2 separate regions of the Homo sapiens genome follow, and region 1 is linked to region 2. The links are contacts of gene promoters, found by promoter capture Hi-C in human tissues and cell types (Jung and others, 2019). All regions are on one chromosome and are shown on one strand. Each heading gives the region's core, a stretch centred on a gene start or on the middle of the fragment in contact. The rest is flanking DNA. Distances are from core to core; before and after follow the strand shown. Region 1 overlaps LOC101928264 (a long non-coding RNA gene). Region 2 holds the start of SLAMF8 (SLAM family member 8).

The links. The method cuts DNA at HindIII sites, captures the fragments that hold promoters and counts their contacts. A contact is called where the count stands out against the background at its distance.
Region 1: a contact is called between a fragment that was not itself captured here and the fragment with the promoter of SLAMF8 in region 2, in 16 of the 25 tissues and cell types used here (IMR-90 fibroblasts, adrenal gland, aorta and 13 more).

What each region holds. Positions count from the first base shown.
Region 1 is chr1:159,774,973-159,777,672 of GRCh38, reverse strand. It overlaps LOC101928264 (a long non-coding RNA gene), which reads left to right. Exons shown (of 3, transcript XR_922193.3): 3 at 918-1,216. Among named protein-coding and RNA genes, the nearest start is that of DUSP23, 4.6 kb to the left of the region's middle. The HindIII fragment of the contact is 6,090 bases long and covers 1-2,700 here.
Region 2 is chr1:159,825,478-159,828,177 of GRCh38, reverse strand. It overlaps SLAMF8 (SLAM family member 8), which reads right to left and starts at 1,305. Exons shown (of 5, transcript NM_020125.3): 1 at 1,240-1,305. The coding sequence starts at 1,279. The HindIII fragment of the contact is 29,109 bases long and covers 1-2,700 here.

The DNA of each region.
Region 1 (2,700 bases), core at 169-2,668, 51 kb after region 2:
TGTCCATCAGTGATAAAGAAAATGTGGTACATATACACCATGGAATATGATACAGCCATAAAAAGCAATGAGATCATTCCCTTGCAGGGACATGGATGGAACTGGAAGCCATTATTCTCAGCAAACTAACACAGGAACAGAAAACCAAACACTGCATATTCTTACTTACAAGTGGGAGCTGAATGATGAGAACACATGGACACATGGGGATGGGGAACAACAAATGCTGGGGCCTGTCTGGGGTGGGGACTTGGGGAGGGAGAACATCAGGAAGAATAGCTAATGGATGCTGGGCTTAAAACCTAGGTGATGGGATGATCTGTGCAGCAAACCACCATGGCACACTTTTACGTATGTAACAAACCTGCACATTCTTCACATGTACCCCTGAACTTAAAAGTAAAAAATAAGGCTTAACAGAACATTTTTTAGGGCATCTCAGCTTCCCTTTTTCCAGCTGATAAGAATGTTTTGACTTAGTTCTTGTTCATATTGAGGCCCCAGTCCCCTGTTTGGCTTGATGCTAGTGGCAATTAGGGGTGCAATTGGAGTCAGAGAATTTCTTCCTCCAGGTAGGTCCCTGTGTTCCACCAATGCAAAGGATTGCTTGGGTTCAGGTTCCTGTGGCCCTTGGACTACAGTCAGAATTCTCAGTGTCCTCAGTGTTCTGATTTTTTAATGTCTAAACACACTTCACACCTAAGATCTGATAATCTGGAAACTGAACCTAAGAAGAAATGGTATGGCAGCTAGCTTCCAAGATGGTACCCAATGAGCCATTTCATGCCTGTGTAGTGCTTTTCCACATTGATAGGGCTGATTTTTGCAACCAGTAAGATATTGTGTAACTGGTGGTGTGTGACTTCCTAGGCTGCATCATGAAATACTTAATTTTTGCCTTGTTCTGTCTTGGAAAGAAGGCCTGCCATGGGAAGCTTTGGGAAGAAGCCAGCTGCCATGTTGTGAGAACTCTCAAGCAGCTGTGTGGAGAGATCCATGTGGTGAGGAACTGAAGCCTCCTACCCACCATCAAGTCAGTGGCTCACTACTGTTGCAGTGAATTCTCCAGCCCATGAAGACTTTAGATGATTTACCCAACATCTTGATTATAGCCTCATGGATTCCCTGAGCCAGAACAACCCAGCTAAGCCTCTCCTGAATTCCTTACCTACAGAAACTGTGAGATAATAAATATTTATTCTTTTAAGCCATCAAATTTTGGGTAATTTATTATGCAGTAATATGTAACTAATATAGATAAAAATATTCAGTTTGAAGGAAAGAAGAAAAATAACTTACAATAAACTCAAGAAATAAAATAAAATTAAAACAAAGGTTAATTCAAAAAGAAAGAATTATACTGTAAGCAGTTGTGGTCTAAGTGTGTGTATGCAGGAATGTTGTGATAGATCAATGCAAATTTTCCATATTTGGAGAACCATGCTGTCTGTGGGGGAACCAACCAGAGTAGTCTGGGCATGAGTTTTGTGTGTGTGTGGTGTTGGAGGTATAGGTTGCTGTGGTATTTGTATGGTTAGAGATGATATACAAATTATTTAATGATTGGTCATGGCACAAGAAACAAGCAATTAAAATGGAACCTCTACCAGAACCATTACCTGCAAACAAACAGTGAAGCTACCCTGGTGTCAGTTGGATGTGTGTCAGCTTTGGGTGTAGAGGCGCTGAAATGGTCTGGGGTGTGGTCAGATTACCTTGGACATTTTAATATAGGTCTTTCCACAAGATGGCACTGATAGCTTTTCCTTGTTTCTCTTTTTTTTGTCTTGTTGAAAAATTTGTGATTCGTATACTGTTGCAGAACATACCATAACTGAAATCTCCCAATTTACTAGTTGATTTCTTGTACTTTTGACAAGTCAATTGCCTTTATGGCATTTAAAATTATGGTGTTTTTTTCTTTTTTTTTAGATCATCCCAGGAGCACATTAAAAGTTTAAGTTGGGGTGTTGGGAATGCTGCCTCACATCAGATGCTATCATCATGGGAGCTGGAGATGGGGAGGGAGGTGGGGACTAGGCTTTGGTTTTTGAAAAGCCATTCAACAAAGGCAGGTGAGAGTGGAATCAAGAGGGAGCATTCAGTTAGGGAAGAGGCACTTCTGTGATCAAAACCATGTTGGTGGACTCTCTCACTTCTTCTGTTTACGCTGCCTCGAGCCTCAGCTGAGCCATAGCCTGGCTGGCACTTTGATATCAGCCTGAGGAGACCCTGAGCTTAGGTTCAGCTAACCTGTGGCCAACTTCTGACCTACAGAACTGACATCATAAATGGTGTTTCTTTAGCCATTATGTTTGTGGCAATTTGTTATGCAGCAATAGAAAACCAATATAGTTGCCTTTATTTACTTTATTTTCTTATCTTTAATATGCTCATCACAGCACTAAACCTTTGGAGTTTCTAAACTGGTGTATTGCTTTTTTTCTTTCCCCTTTGTTTTAAGTTTTTCGGTCTCTAAAACTATAGGCCGCATAGGTTCATTTTCCAGTGTAGATGCAACAAATATGATGAACCAATGGAACTCACAAACTGTCAGCATCTGGTTTCGTTTTGGCACCTTCTAAACTCCTGGCTGCTCCCTCCACCACCTTTAGACCAGTGCTTCTCAAGGTGTGATCCACAGTTGATGTCACATGGGAGCCTGTGATAGATGCGGAATCTCAGGCCCCCCGACCTGTG
Region 2 (2,700 bases), core at 56-2,555:
CACAGATCTTTGATCATTAAGGGCCATTTGAAAAATTATTTTTGGGCTGGGTGTGGTGGCTCATGCCTGTAATTCCAGCACTTTGGGAGGCTGAGGAGGGCGGATCACTTGAGGTCAGGAGTTTGAGACCAGCCTGGTCAACATGATGAAACCCTGTCTCTACTAAAAATACAAACATTAGCCGGGTTTAGTGGCAGTGACCTGTAATCCCAGCTACTCAGGAGGCTGAGACAGGAGAATCGCTTGAACCCAGGAGGCAGAGGTTACAGTGAGCTGAGATGCACCATTGCATTCCAGCCTGGGTGACAGAGCAAGACTCCGTCTCAAAGAAAAAAAAAAAAGGCAAATTATTTTTGTCTCACCAAACAGACCAAGGCCTTTTTTGAGGTTAAGGTGTGATTTCCTGCACATGTTTAGAAATATTGAAGAAATCTGCAGGCTTTGGAGCTCTCAGGGCCAGGAACTCAGGCAAGGAGATGAAACAAAGCAACCCAAAGTCCCTATGAGCCTCTGATGTAAACAATATCATCTTAATCTTTGCTGCACCCCATAAACCCTCATCCATGGCCCGGCAGTGTTGACCCATGTCATGTTGGCTGCTTGTTGACCAAGGAAGGGAACTCAGGCATCAGATGGATAGAGGGATCGCCCGGTGTGGAGGAGACCCCGTGTATCAGCCATCCCAACATCACACCACCGTCGGCCACCCCTAAGTCCACGTGGGCCACATTTAGCCTCTCTCATCCCTACTTAGTACTTGCCTCCCCTTATAAAGGCCTGTAGGGAGGGACCTCAGCTCCCCCACAGGCTGTTGAAAACACACTCTGCTGATTGTGGGGAACCCTGCTCTGCCCTGCCCTCTGCTACTCTCCTCAAACTCTGCAGAGTTTCTGCATGCTAACACTGCCGGGTCCTCACCATTCTCACAGCCGACTTTCTCTCCAAACCAGCAGTATCACCCACTGGCTCCGTTTTTACTGCTCTGGGCCACAAAACAGCTCATGTCTCACAGATAAGAATACCCCTCAAGCTGCCACCTCCTCCCTCCCAGGACCCTGCATCTCTTTGTATCTGCCTAGCTTAAAATGTTGCCCAAGAGCTTGTTCTAGTCTTTCCTACCCACCCTCAGCTTCTGGGTTCTCACCCAGGTCGAGGGATCCCTGCCCAGACGTCTGGCATAGGCAGCTGGGGAGGGGCCTTCAGCTCTCCGAGGACAGGCTATCTGCCTGCCCCACTTACCTTCCCAGAGAAGCAGACTCCACAGGGGCCTCATGACCATCTTTCTCTGGAGAGGCAGGCAAACTCCCTCGACAGCCAAAATCCAGAACCTCCCAGGCCGAGTGGATGCACGGGAGGAGCTGTGGTCCTTCTGGAAAGTCCCATGTTCAGAAGGAGGAATCTTGACTCAGAACAGGATGTCCCAAAAGTGAAAACATCCAGAATAAAGTGGAAGTTGTCCCTGGGCCTCTCTGGGCTTACAGGAGCAGATTCTTGTAAGTCAGCCTCTTTCACATGCACATGGTTGGCTAACACGTGGCGACAACAGCCCCCACACAAGCCACATCCTCCTTGCTGGATCTCGCTGGCCTTCCTGCATCTCAGCCTGCCTCACTACTATCTGTCATCCTCATTCTAGCTTAAAATGCTTCTGTGGCCTCCCGTGGACCTGAGGATGAGGACTAACTCTGCTCTGCATGCAGGCCCTCCTGAGTCAGGCCTTCTTCTCCAGGCTGGTCGCCCACAGTCATTCTGCCCTCCAGCCATCCCAAGCCAGAAGGCCTCCTTCTCAGAACTACTGATTTCACACTTCCCTGTGTTGTACTTTCCCCACCACCCCGACTAGGCATGCTGCTCCCTCTATCCTTGCAAACAGAACATGGCTGTGCAGTCGGCGAGGACATCCTTCCAGGCTTCCTGACCACAGGCAGGTGAGAGGCCCTCTCCTTGTGTCCTGTGCATGCCCACACCTCCCTCTTTACTCTTGCTGTGTTGTTGATGACAGTTTTCTGGTTTTCACAGACTGTTTAGCCAGTCTTTTGTTCCCTTCTGTGTTGCCCTCAGTGCTTGGCACATTACAGATGTTTCATGAGTATTTGTTAAGTGAGTGAGTACATTCTAGACATGGCTACACATCTGGCTTTATGTAAGCCTTGCAACTCTCCTCTGAGAGGATCATCTTGTTACCTGGTTAGAAATGGGAAAATGTGAAAACCAGAGTGAGGTTAGGCCCCTTGCAGAGCTCACAGAGAGGCAGAGCTGGAACTTGAACCTCAGCCTTTGAAGTGTGGTCTATTTTGCCACAGTTATCCCCTCCTCATCCTGTTTCTCTTCTCACTTCAAGTTTCTTGGTTTCTTGCCAGTGAAGGTTTTTAGAGGACGTGTTGCCCCTGAGGAAAATTCCTGCTAGTCTGGAGTGTGGCTCATCGTATCTGGTCCTGCACAGCCTCTCGCCTGTCAATCAAACTGGACACTGAGCTTTGGACTCAGCCAGGAACTAGGCATATAGGATGGGGTGGGGGTGGGTGGTGAGCAGGAGGATTTTGGGATAAGGTTTTTGCCCTCCAGGTACTCACAACCAAAATGTAGAGATAGGTACACCAAGGAAAGTGAAGGGTTATCTGCAGACAGACACCACTTTGTGCAAACAGGTAGTCAGTCCTCAGAAGTGGGTGGGAAAGAGGGCTTCGCGGATCTGGGCAG